Linked DNA regions of Homo sapiens: region 1 is linked to region 2. The links are contacts of gene promoters, found by promoter capture Hi-C in blood cells and fetal thymus (Javierre and others, 2016). All regions are on one chromosome and are shown on one strand. Each heading gives the region's core, a stretch centred on a gene start or on the middle of the fragment in contact. The rest is flanking DNA. Distances are from core to core; before and after follow the strand shown. Region 1 overlaps MYO5A (myosin VA). Region 2 holds the start of MYO5A (myosin VA).

What was found. The method cuts DNA at HindIII sites, captures the fragments that hold promoters and counts their contacts. A CHiCAGO score of 5 or more calls a contact.
Region 1: a fragment that was not itself captured here is called in contact with the fragment with the promoter of MYO5A in region 2 in 1 of 17 cell types (total CD8 T cells); the score reaches 5.2 in total CD8 T cells.

Annotation. Positions count from the first base shown.
Region 1 is chr15:52,359,076-52,365,695 of GRCh38, reverse strand. MYO5A (myosin VA) reads left to right here. Exons shown (of 42, transcript NM_001382347.1): 24 at 994-1,142; 25 at 5,615-5,728. Among named protein-coding and RNA genes, the nearest start is that of MYO5C, 67 kb to the right of the region's middle. The HindIII fragment of the contact is 952 bases long and covers 4,331-5,282 here.
Region 2 is chr15:52,522,956-52,530,129 of GRCh38, reverse strand. It overlaps MYO5A (myosin VA), which reads left to right and starts at 1,250. Exons shown (of 42, transcript NM_001382347.1): 1 at 1,250-1,350. The coding sequence starts at 1,324. RefSeq lists a silencer at 721-1,600. The HindIII fragment of the contact is 12,943 bases long and covers 1-2,573 here.

The DNA of each region.
Region 1 (6,620 bases), core at 3,557-6,056, 170 kb after region 2:
TATTAAAGCCCTACTCTAGGGAAGCACTGTGGTGGGCACCAGGAAAGCAGCTGTGACAAGACACTTGTAGCCCTTGCCTCATCGTGCTCACAGAGAAAGCAGTGGTGAAGCAATAGAAGCAGGCAGGGCAGATTAAGATTTAGCCTCAAAATATATGGGTAACATGGAGCAAAGTGGTAGAAGCTTAATATTATAAATGTGACTGGTTGGCTGATTGAGTTAAGACATACAGCTGAGATTTGAGGTTTTGTTACTTTACTTCATCTGCAGTCAAGGGCTAATCTCCAATCTCCAGATCATGTCCTAGCCAAAAGCAAACCACAGCCACAAAGAGGGCTGAGGGTGTAGGTAAATGGAGAAGGCAAGGTTTCCTCAGCAGCGCGTGGGGATGACCAACAAGCACACAACACAGCTGGCCAGGCCCGAGCATTTTATCTGGTTAGAAGCTGGGAAGTAATAGGACAGCAGGGGAGGTTAAAGTCGTAGAAAACGTAAGACAGAACTGTGAGATGGTAAATTAAGAGAGACTCTGTAGAGTAGGACAACCGGGTCCACTGAAAAGTTGCCATTCTCTTGAGAAATATCTCTCTTGAGAAATATCTGTGAGGAGGTCATTTTGAGAGAGTACACTACTTTGGGCAAAATAATTTTATGAATAGAATACCATTGGAATAAAAATATGTACACTTTAGTTACTAGACAGTGACTGACTAGTGGAAGTTTTTCAAGGATGTGCTGTAACCAGTGTATCAATTAGTGGTACTAAGGCCAGAGTACATGGAATAACTCAGTAGATGATTGTTATTATTAATAAATTATTTCATTTTTTGGTCATTTTTTCTTTTCCTAAATTTTACTAAGACACTCTTCATGGATCACAGTGATACTAAAAGTAAAATTGCCTACAGAGAAACTGGAAATCAGTATACATGTTTACACAATTGCATTCTCAAGGGGCCATCTTTAGTATGCATATCCTTTTTTTAATTTCAGAAACTATGGAGAAGAAGTTAGTAGAAGAAACGAAACAACTGGAACTCGACCTTAATGATGAAAGGCTGAGATATCAGAACCTTCTGAATGAGTTCAGTCGCCTGGAAGAAAGATATGATGACCTCAAGGAAGAGATGACCCTTATGGTGGTGAGTCAAACACTTTTGTTTTTTTTTTAATGAAAAATTTTAAACATATACAAAAGTAAATAGAATAGTAGAATGAACCTCCATATCTTCTGTGTACCTACCACCCAGTTCCAGAATGTTCAACACATATTCACCTCCCATTCCATCTCCCCAACCCACTCCATCCAATGGATTGGATTATTTTAAAGCAAATCTTAGAAATCATATAATTTTATTCACAAGTACTTCGGTAAAGTCAAACAGTTTAAAGACTGGGCTATGTGATAGTATAAAGTCAGTAAAGTTGGATTTTTGTTTTTGTTTTTGTTTTTTTTTTTGAGATGGAGTCTCCCTGTGTCACCAGGCTGGAGTGTAGTGGCACAATCTCGGCTCACTGCAACCTCCGCCTCCCAGGTTCAAGTGATTCTCCTGCCTCAGCCTCCCGAGTAGCTGGGACTACAGGTGCCCACCACCATGCCCAGCTAATTTTTTGTATTTTTAGTAGAAATGGGGTTTCACCATGTTGGCCAGGATGGTCTCGATCTCTTGACCTCATGATCTACCCACCTTGGCCTCCCAAAGTGCTGGGATTACAGGCATGAGCCATTGCGCCCGGCCAGTTGGACTTTGTTTTATATATTGAATGGCCTAATGTAAAATTTACATGTAGACTGGTTTTGATTATAATTTTGAAGATATATTCCTATGAAAAGAAAATTCAGACTCCATTTGTAATGAATTATCTATTTCAAGGACTCTTCTGCATTTGCCAATGTACCTTTCATACTTGTAATAATTCTGCACATCCTCCCCATTCCATGTATCCTGCTATCAGGAAACAAAGAGTTCCCAAGCATCCCTACAAGTACCAGCCTTAAAGGTAACCTAATTATACAAATGACCAGAAATGCCCTGAAATATCTCATAAAAAGCCAGATAATTCAGTATCTGTGGAGCAGAGTATTTTCTTCAAATTTTGCTTCTATCTGGACCTACTGACAAAGTTCATTACAATATGACACTTAAAAGTCAAAATAAAAGAGATTGTGTAATACAAAAGATAGGCTCTCATCACCTTGCAGATGAGAAAATCCTGTCTAAAAGAGACCAAAAAGCTAATATAAATCCCACATTGGACCATTATTTCAACCCTCACTACTCTGATTTATGTGTGACAAAGAGAAATTAGAAGTAGATGCAAGTCACCATTATAACTGTTCTTATAATTGACAAATCTAAAGACCCTTGTTAAGCTTCATCTTCCTAGATCACCGTGCTACCGTTGGTCCCATTGAAACCTTTCTTCCTTCACATTCTGTAATTCTTAGCTTTCTCTTGAATCCTTTTCTTCTTTTTCAGTGTTCATGTTCCCCAGTTCCATTCTTTGGTGTGTTTTTGTTCACTCTATTTATTAGATGACAATGCCAACATTTATGGTTAATCTCTGTTTCAGTTATGGTTAGAGCTAAGCTTTATAACCCAGTAGGTGTTTCTGAGACCCCCTAGTTATTTGGGATGTTAATAAGTGGGATTGGAAAAGAAATTCTTAGGTAAAATAAATGTGGTAATCTACTAGGTTAAACAGAGATAAACAAATGTCTTTTCTGGAGAATTTCTTGGATTCTTTAATGGTGCATGCAATATGAATTTCAGAAAATAAAATGAGAGAAGCAGGTGCCATACATGTATCCCTCTCTGAGCATATTCCAGAGATATCCATCTGTGAGGAGGTCATGGGTCTCTTTAGTCGAGGAGGTGGCCATTTCTAGAAAGGTCCTCCAGTGACGCCTCCTCCAGCAGCTTGACACGGCTCCTCCTTCCTGCTAAGCAAGTCTGCCTGCTCTCCATCTGTTCCCAGCAGTGCTCTAGAGGTAGTTTTAGTTGCTCAATTTCTTATTTCTCAGTCATGTGTCCTCTCCATTGTATGCCTGTGACTCAGTCATTCCTCTTGGGAGACAAAATGGTCAGAGGAAGGGAAAAGGAGAAAGCAGAGGAAGGGAGATCAGAGCTCACTTGCTTCCCACTCATTTCTTCACTAGATCTCCTTTTCCTAGCTCCAGATATAATCAAGATGACAGTTTTTGCAGAAAATATTTGCCCAGAATTGCAGAGAATAAAAAACTTGATCTTTTAACCCATGACAATTAAAATATTAGTGACAATATCTTATTTTAATGTTTAGGTACAACTAAACAGCTAACAGATGAGTACTTGACTAATATTAGACTGACGCTGTTCTGTAAATGACACTCTCACTGCTTCAATCCAGAGCTAATGAAGCATTTGGTTGTAAACAGAGTCGTCATATGAATGGAGGAAACTCTAGGGAGGGGACTTGATACACTGCCTCCAGCGCTTCCCATAACCTATGTGATACATGGGCCAAAGAACACTAATAGTGTCACTCATTGCCAGCCTCTAGAGTTGTTGGCCCTAGTACAAGAAGTACTGTAGCATTTTTCTCCAAGAACATTCGGTTGTCCAGGGAATATAGGGGCAGAGGCAAAGAGGAAGGACCAATCCAGGGCTAAGGAGTTTCAAGCCAATGATGAAAAGATCATGAGGCATGGGCATCCAGGTTTATGAAGTGTTTAAAGATAAATTAATTCCAGAGAGGGGAGGGAAACCAGCATGTCAATCATGGGGTCGTTAGTCTTGACAAAGGGATAAAACATGTTCTGGAAAAGAAGGAATCATGGGAGAAATCAGGAGCAGAAGAGGAGGGAGGTGCAGATCTTGAAGGAGAACGTGATGATCCAGTCAAATATATATCCTTGTAATTGAAAAACGTATAAACGGGGGAACAAAATCCTAAAAACAGAGAACTGAAAAGTTACCAACAAGGAAGTTGCTGAATCACTGCAATCTCCTAACAATCACAGCAGCAGAAGTTAACATTCATTGAATGCTTGTTATGCCAAGCCAAACTCTTTACTTCCACACTCTTATTTAATCCTCACACAGACCCTATGAGATAGAAATTAGTACCCTTTTTTTCCTGATGATGAAAATACCAGCTAGTGGAAGAGCTGGTATTCCTGCCTAACTCTCTCTCGTTTCAGATCCAGAGCACTTAATCACTGCCCTGTATCCAAAAGTTACATTAAATAGCAAAAAGCAATGTTGCTTCTATTAATGCCTTAAGGTATTCCTTGTATAATGATAGACATATGTGGGAAGACAGGGATCTCTCTCATTTTTAATAAGCTTATTAAAAATCTTTGTCCTGGTGTTTATCTGGACTACCTGGTTTTCTTAGTGATACAACCAGTTTATTAAATAAATGCCATTCCTACAACTGTGGGCTTGGGCTGGAAACTTTAAGCAAGAGTGCCTGTGTCTGTAAACAGACAGTGAATTTGAGTGCCTTTGACTTCATGTGTGATGATTGTCCCCTTTAGTGTGCACCCCAGCTTCTGGATCGTTTCAGAGGTGCTGGTGTTCTTGGATCTTCCCTTCACATTGCAGTACAGGTTGGGTTGGCCTGGGAGACTTTTACGTGCCTCTGGATGAGTCTGCTCTCCATAAGCCTGGGTGTTGGAAGGGAAGAGACAAAGAAGCTCTTTGTGGCTTCTAGCTCTTTTCCAGCAGCTGGGGAAAGGTACAAAGAAAACTGGACAGATGAGAAAGCTCTCAGAGGCCTTTGTGAAGCCCTCAGGACTGTAACACTGCAAGATTAAGCCACTGGATCTTTTCCACCTCTCCTGCTGGGGACATGCTAAGAGCCCAGCCTTTTAATTCCTTCTTCCCTCAAGTTATTCTCTAACCCCTTCTCCTACAGGAGGGAAGGGTGTGTCGTTGCTAAACTTTTCTATTCCTCTTGAACTTTCTCAACACTAATTTCCTAGGTATTACATGTCATAAAAATGCCACCTGGATGCCCTGAGGTAATAACCGAGGGCTCTTCAGAGGATTACTAGAGCAGCTTTCTTACCTCCCGTGTACTGTCCATCCTGCCCACTGCTCACTCCAAAGATTTAACTTCACGTATTAAAGTGACAGAAGTTAGAGCTGCCTGTGTGAACTCCTTCATCTTTCTTTTAAACCATTTATGCCTAGTTACCATGCAGTAAAATGATTGTGCATGCCATTTCAATATATTTTATGAGGTTTTTGTAAGTTTTATTTGATTATGGCACTAAAAGTCAGTGCTTGGAAGCTTCACCCAGTGCTTCACTGAGCACTGCTTCACCCAGTGTGACTGACCGCTCAAAGCTTTCAACACCCAAAGGGGACTCGACTAATAATCAGAAGTGGTTTTCATTTGGGCATTTGGTTTTGCAACTGTTCTTGTCCTGTCATGCCAGTGTACCTTTTTCTTTGAAGCGGTGACCTTTTTGTAATTATTTGGTCAAAACAATATGGAACAAATCACTTGGGCACCAATACAAGTCAGGAAGTAGGGATAAGAACCAAGTCAAGGTGGATGCTGTCTTAACTATGCCTAGACTAATTATGTTGCATTAATTATACCTGGGTTATTTGCCTTGCAGCATGTGCCTAAGCCTGGACACAAGAGAACAGACTCCACCCACAGCAGCAACGAGTCTGAATATATCTTTAGCTCTGAAATTGCAGAAATGGAAGACATTCCATCAAGGACAGAGGTACAGTTTAGACATCTGTCACTGAAAGTAGGATATGAGCATGCTGTTGTTAACAAGGAACATTTCCATTGCAAAGCAGACTCCAATTGGCCATAAACATAGTATTTGTTTGAATCATTTATTCTTCATAAGTGACTTGTAGATACAAACTTATTTACATTTTTGTATACTTAAGTGCTGTGTACATACATACCTATTGCATTTTTTTGTCAATACAAATTTTAATTTTAATTTTTAATGCAATTTTGATGGTGAGATTTTATTTTTATAATTCTCTTTACCCCTAACATGATATGTTTACAGGAATTTATTTCAGACTGAGGTAAATTATTTTATTTTTACTTATTATTTATTTACTTTATATCTGTGGACCACCGCTGTAGACAGAGGTAAATTATTTTTAAAGTAAGCCCTTTGTCCTTGAATATTATAAACACCAGTGCCCCAGAGTTTAGCAAAACTGATGCCTCTATTTTATGCCAGTTTTTACCAATGTAACTTTCTTCTACAAAATGCATGGAAAATAGTTTAGAAATCTGCTTTAATGTTTTGTGTTTTGTGGTATGAAACCAAAATGATGTATTACTGTAACTCCAAGAGTATAGTGACTTTTAGTTAGATTATTCCCAACCAATTCTAAGATCTTTTAAAATATGATATAGTTTCAATAATGGGTAATTCAGGCACAACTGTCCTATTTTTATATTATATTTTTTGAAAATGGCCAAATCAGAAATAGACTGCTTCTGGTAGAATAGCTAGAGAAATTGAGTGATTCTTTCCTTTCTTGTCTTAGTTCTACTTAAGAATGAAGTTTCTGCCATCTCATTCTGTTAATTTTGAAGAAAAATGTTACATAGTTGGAATGTCATATCATTGGAATCATACATAC
Region 2 (7,174 bases), core at 1-2,500:
AGGCAGGGATTAAACAAACAAAAACAGCAACAACAACAACGACAACAATAAAGAATGAAGATTATTCAACCAGAAACGACAATGAGGGTGGGGAGAAGATAGAGGATGAAGACAGCGCAGGGTTGGGAGTAGAAAGACCACATTCTTGTGCTGGATGTTCAAGGATCACCGTGAGGAGAGTGAGGGCGGCTTTGCCCTTTTGATGTTGAGTTAAACTGTAATACAGATTTTCCATGTAAGTACTCCGTCATTTTCAGGTGGCAACCGGATAAACTTCAGGTGCCACCATGGAGCCGACAATCACCAGCAGCGAACAGGACGGGAAGAAGGCTGGGACAGAAGGGTAGTTGCATCTCCGCAAACGCACAGGTCTAGGAAAGAGGCACCTGGGCTGTCCCCGGGCTATCTCGTTTCAAAGTCACTTAAGTTTCTGTAGCTTAGAAGCGGCCCTTGCCCTCTGGTATCGGGAGACGACTTTGCTGCAGACATCGAGGTGCTCGGAATGACCTTGGTGATCAACCTTAACCTGAAATTCCCGGTCCTGCATTGCCCATCTCCCGGGTCACTGCTGCTGACAAGGCTCTTCTACAGTCCTGGGTTATTCTACAGTCTTTCAAGAGGGCTTCCCCTAAATCCTCTCCCTAGGAATGCTTGGAAGGACGGGAGGAGCAGCCTGGAGGCTCCCATCGTTTATTCGGACACAGTAACAGCCCGTGCCATGGCTGCGCTACCGCGGGAGCTAGGCTCCGCAGCAGAGGGCCCCGGGCTCGCTTCGGGGTGGGGGCGCCCGGGGTGTGCCGCGCCCTCGGGGCTCACGTCCCGGGCGGGTTTCCGGGCCTCGGCAGGGCGCGAGGCGGCGGCGGGGCCGGCTGGCAGGCTGATGATGATGATGCTCTGTGCTCGTAGCCGATGGGAGGCAGCGTGAGCCCGAGAGAGCCCAGAGCAGCCGCGGTGGCAGCGCTGGAGCGCAGCCTCCTCCCGCTCCCATAATGCACAGGGCGGCGGCGGTGGCGGCGGCGGCAGCGGAGGCAGCATCGCGGGCCGCCGAAGTGGCTGCGGCGGCGGCGGCGACCCCTAGGACCCCGGGCAGGTGGAGCGCTCGCGGCTGCTCGCGGCGAGCCCGGGAGTGATGGCGAGGCCCCTGCGGGCGGCCAGCGCCTGAGGCGCCCCGCCCCGCCCCGCCCCGCGCGGCCCTCCCCGCCCGGCCCTGCCCTGCCCTGCTCCCTGCCGGCGGCTGCGGGCGCTTCCTAGTCCGCTCGGGCGGCCGCCCAGGCGAGGTGCGGCCTCCGCACAGGCGGGGGGCGTAGGCGCGCGGGGCCCGCCATGGCTGCGTCGGAGCTCTACACAAAGGTAAGGCACCCCGCGGCCGGCGTCGAGGACTGGGGCTGTGCGGCCCTCGCCGCCAGCTGTCAGGCTGGGGAGGGGGCGGGAGCGCCGGGCCCAGGCGAGCCCCACCAGCGCCATCCCCTTCAGCGCCTCAGAACCCTCGGCCCTACCAGCCGGTCGCCCGCTGCGGCACCTTCCTCTTTCGGGCGAGATGGTGAAGGCGGCGGAAGGTGGCCCGCCTCGGGGGTCTCCCAGGCCCCTGCCGCGCTGCTCGAGCTGGGGGCAGAGCGGGCTTCGGAGTGGAAAGGGGGCCCATGTGGATTTAGCAGGGCGGGCGTGCCTCCCCTCCTGCTTGGCTTTGGAAAATTCCCGGCGGGTGGGAGATGCTTGCTCCAGTAGATCGGATGGGTTCTCTCGTGGGGACACGCGCTTAAAATAACGTCTTGTGTTGGTATGCAGTGCCGCTTCTACCGCCAGCTAGCCTTTCTGTGAGGTTATTTTGAATCCTGCAAACGGTGGCCGTATCACCTTTAGCTCCCCAGTTTAGCTGCGCTGGGGGTGGCGAGCCCCGGGGAAAGATGCTGCCGGATGAACGCGAGCTGATTCACCGGCTGGGAGGGTCGGTACTCATTTATCGCTGGGAGTTTGCAACCTGCGTGTAATCCCGCAGAGCCTTGTTAGGCTCCATGTCTTTACCATCCTCTGGGGCAAGCCTTTCCCTTCTGGGTTTGGTTTAAGGGAAGTGGCAGTCTTTTCTTAGACTGACATCAATATACTCAGGGTCTGGCGATCTCTGAATGACATATTATGGAGAACTGTCACTTGAGTGCTGCGCAGATTTGTGATGACCTTTGTGAATATATGTAATCATGGCATTTTATACTGTACACTCATGTGTAGGTAGATATTTTGCCAGATATTGATTACTTCTACATGCAGTTAATAGAGTTGCCTTTTCACATTAGCTTTTGCAACAGAACTTTCATTTAGGGTCCTGTAATCACTGGAATCATTGTTTCCAAATGTCACTGAAGTCCAGGGCCCAAGTTGCAGTGTGTTTTGTAGAGGAAAGAAGACTGGGCATCAAGAGACCTGGATTCAAGCCGGGACTTACTAACTGTGACCTTGGACAAGTCACTTAACATCTCTGGTTCGATTTCCTAATGAGTAAATGCAGTTAATTATACTTGCCTTGCATCCCTTACAAGCTGTTGTGAGAATCAAACTTAATAATCGTTGTGAAAGCTTTTTGTAACCTATGAATTTCTCTGCAAATATGAGATATATGATTAATTTCTTCAACCATGAAATGAGCTTGCATGAAACATTGTCTGAGACCTCTTTCTTTCTAGTTTTAGATTTAACGACTGTACAGTTGGAACTTCTCTCTCAACCTGGTAATTTCTTTAGGCATTGTAGATCTCTAACATATGAACGAATGCAATTGGAAACTGATTAAAAGTAACTTAAACACTTAATATGGTGCTTGCTATGTGCCAGGTACTGTTTTAAGCGTTTTAAAAATATGAACTCATAATCCTCATAAGGAACTTATGAGGTCGATATTAAGAAATATCAAAATCATTTTCACATGAAGAGATAATCAGTCTGTAAACATTCCTTGGTTACTTTGTGTAGCCCATCCCCTCCACTTCTACATCAAGTTTGTCCAACCCGCAGCCCATGGGCCGCATGTGGGCCCAGGACGGCTTTGAATGTGCCCCAACACAAATTCATAAACTTTCTTAAAACATGGGTTGTTGTGTTTTTTTTGCAATTTTTTTTTTAGCTCATCATTTATCATTAGTGTATTTTATGTGTGGCCAAAGAAAATTCTTCTTCCAGTGTGGCCCAGGGAAGCCAAAAGATTGGACACCCTCCGTTCTATATGGTGAGCAGTCATCTTTGAGTCACCTAATAGTAGGCTGCTTAACTAGAGACTGAGTGGATAATAAATTGTTGTTGGATTTCGAATGCTTTTTTCCCCCAGGATAATTTGGGAGAAAAAATTGAAAAGATGTTGTGATTTGTAAATGGTAAAGTTTTGGGCTTCTGTCACAGCTTTATCACAATCTATTTTAAAATTTACCTTTTAACAGCCTGAGGAACATAATGAGACCTGGTCTCTACAAAAAAATTAAAAAGTTAGGCTGGGCACGGTAGCTCACGCCTGTAATCCCAACACGTTGCCGAGGTGGGTGAATCACCTGAGGTCAGGAGTTCGAGACCATCTTGACCAACATGGCAAAACCCCGTCTCTACTAAAAATAGAAAATTAGCTGGGCGTGGTGGCGCATGCCTGTAATCCCAGCTACTCAGGAGGCTGAGGCAGGAGAATCACTTGAACCTGGAAGGCGGAGGTTGCAGTGAACCAAGATCGCGAGCCTGGGCAACAAGAGCGAAACTCTGTCTCAAAAAATAAATAAATAAATAAATAAAAATTAGCTGGGCGAGTTAGTCACGCCTGCGGTCCCAGCTACTCGAGAGCTGAGGCAGGATGATCAGCTGAGGCAGGAAGATTGCTTGAGCCTGGGAGGTTGAGGCTGCAGTGAGCCATGACTGTGCCACTGCACTCCATCCTGGGCAAAACAGCAAGACCGTGTGTTGAAAAAAAATTTTTTTTAACCTCTTTGTCATTATAAAGACAGACTGGCTTAGAGATCAAGACTGAAGTTGGGGCTTACACTGCCTTCTTCTAAATATACTTATGCCTAATTAATAGTCTGGTTACTTGGTTATTTGTTGGCAAATTCTTTTTGTGAATGGGCCTTAGCTTAATGGCAAGCAGAAATACTTATCAGGCATCCTGTGTGCCAGGTACTTTGCTTAATGTTTAGAGGATTTAACAATGAACAAGATACAGTCCTTTCCCTCAACACGCTCATAGTCTGCTTCTTACATTCTTGACCCACTTTGAATCTATAGGGGCATAAATAACCTGCTGTTACCTCAACAGCAGGCAGACAGCTGGTATGATATTTATTAGTAGAAGTTAGGGAATGGGTTGGGACATGGGGAAGGTTGGGCTGATTCCAGAGATAAAAACTACTATTGTAATTACTAGAGGAATAGGAAAATCATTAGAAGTATTATCAGTGGATAAGCACAAGGATCTTCCCCTTGCAGAGGATTATAGGAAGGAAGTTCTAGGATAGATTACAAGGAAAGATGTATTAGTGATATGCCATAATTATGGTATTTAACATTGTGGTTAAATCTGAAAAGTGCTCTTTAAAAAAATGTCATTCAGATCTTAAGGGCAGATTTTAATGTGTGATACAGATCAGTTCCTATTACAGTGAAGGACAAGAGACTGTTCAATTTCTTCTTTTTAGCCAGAATGGTAATGGTTTTGTCACAGCAATTTAACAAGGCTTCCATTTTGTAAGTTTTTCCAGCAGTATAAACATTTTAAGGACAATAGCTAGGTTCTTGGGATACTTGTCTGGAAACGAATATTTTGGTTAAAACATGTTTTGTTGATTTTTAAAAATAACAGCTTTATTGAGATATGTGTCTTATACCATATAATTCACCATTTAAAGTGTACTATTCAATGGTTTTTGGTTTATTCACAGAGTAGTATGTTGATGTGTTTGTGGTCAACCTGCCTTGCTCCCAAAAGAATTAAAGGAAACTATGATATCTCATTGCTTCTGATTTTGAAAATATTTGCTAGTCTTGACTTGCCAGTGGATATCTATATCATACATCATCCATAGGTGCTTTTGGTAACTAGAAGCAATTCTACATTTGTGGAGTAGGGTTTATCAATTAGACCTAGAAGGATTATCGGGAACATTATAATGAATGGCATGCTATTCCTCCTGTCATCATGTTCCCAGACACCATGGATAGCACCATGGTATCCATGCTATAGGATGGTCAAGATTACTTGAAGCTGGGTTTTTTTTTTTTTAATTTTTTATTTTTTTTGAGACAGGGTCTCACTGTGTCACCCAGGCTGGAGTGCAGTGAAATGAACATGGCTCACTGTAGCCTTTAACTCCTGGGCTCAAGCTGTCCTCCCACCTCAGCCTCGTGAGTAGCTGGGACCACAGCTATGCACCCAGCTAATTTTTAAATTTCTTCTAGAGATAGTCTCAGTATGTTGCCCAGGCTGGTCTTAAACTCCTGGACTCAAGTGATCCTCCTGCTTCCACCTCCCATAGTGTGGGATTACAGGCATGAGCCACCACACCCAGCCTATTTTATTTATTTATTTATTTATTTATTTATTTATTTATTTAGGTTCAGGGTCTCACTCTGTTGTCCAGGCTGAGGTGTAGTGGTGTGAACATGGCTCATTGCAGTATCGACCTCCCAGGTGCAAGCCATCCTCCCACCTCACCTTCCTGGGTAGCTGAATCTACAGGCATGTGCTACCAAACCCAGCTAATTTTTGTACTTTTTACAGAGACAGGATCTTGCTGTGTTGCCCAGGCTGATCTCTAACTCCTCAGGTCAAATGATTCTCCTGCCTCGGCCACTCAAAGTGTTGAGATTACAGACATGAGCCACCATGCCTGGCTTATTTTTAATTTTAAAAAAGTTTTAATTTTTTTGTTTACTTTTGTGTTTTGTTTTGTTTTTACCTGAAGCTGTTTGATTAGGAGGTTCCCATGTGTGCTGAGATGCTGAGTATTGTAACAGTGCAAAGACAATCTAAAATTCCACATTTGCAAAGCATGTTAACTTGCCTAGATGAAACAGCTCTTAAGGTCAGTAGATTGTATATGTGTAACTTTCCATTCCCAACATATCCTCTCATATATACAGGAGCCACATGGCCTAGATTTTTTCTGGGATAGATCCACTTTTATATTCTATGGCACTGTCTCTTCAAACTACTGATCTTGGAAATTCTAATATTTTCATGTCGAGACTGTATTTCTCAGACTGCTTCCAACATCTTAAAGAGGAACAGAAATCTCATCTCTGATCATGTGCCCTGACTTGGAGTTTGGCAAGGATGTTAGCTGTCCTCAAGTCTCCTGTCATGCCCTTTCCATTTGAATTTCCTCCTGGTGTTCCTAGGCCTGTTAACGACTTGCTGTTCTCCTAGTTCCGCAGCTTGGAAACCTCCGTATCTTTTTTCTTGTCTTTCACATTCGACTTCTTCTATATCAATTCTAATTTCAGTTGACATCCAGCTGATAGCTCAGATTTGGAACTCCCACTAGTACTCTTTTTCTCTGTCTTAATGTCCCAAACATGTTTCTGTCTTATTACGGTTACTGTATTTGTGTATATGTTTACCACTCCCACGATACTCTAAGCCCCCTGACATGCTGTTTTGTTTACCTCCTGTAGAGCCTAGCCCAGTGTTACACAGAATAGCTGCTCATTGAATATTTGTTGAATGAATACTTAAGCAGGGGAGGGATGGAATGAAAATAATGGTTTGGCATGATCAGTCCACTTGTAGGGACGAAGCAGGGTATAAAGATGTGGTTAAACAAGTAAACACATTTTCAGGCATGTTGAACAGGATGAGTAATAGAACTGGGAACCAGGGAGACCAGGAAACTTTCAGGAAACAAAATGTGAAGTGGTGAAGGTCTGGTGGACTGAGGCAGGGGCAGAAGGTGTGGGAAAGAAGAGGATAAATCCGAGAGACAGGTCTCTCCGAGATGGATTACATATAGGATGGGAAGGAGCAGGAGTAGTATGAAATAATGCCAGTAGCTCCAGACTTGGAAACTGAAAATTAATTCCTGTTTCATCACAAATTTTGACTGCCTCTGTGGAACTTGAATGCTACTAAGAAATACTTCTTTACATAGCTTGACAAAGCAAAATGCCCATTATTTCCTCTTGAAATTTGTTACTGTTTCTTGAAGTGTGA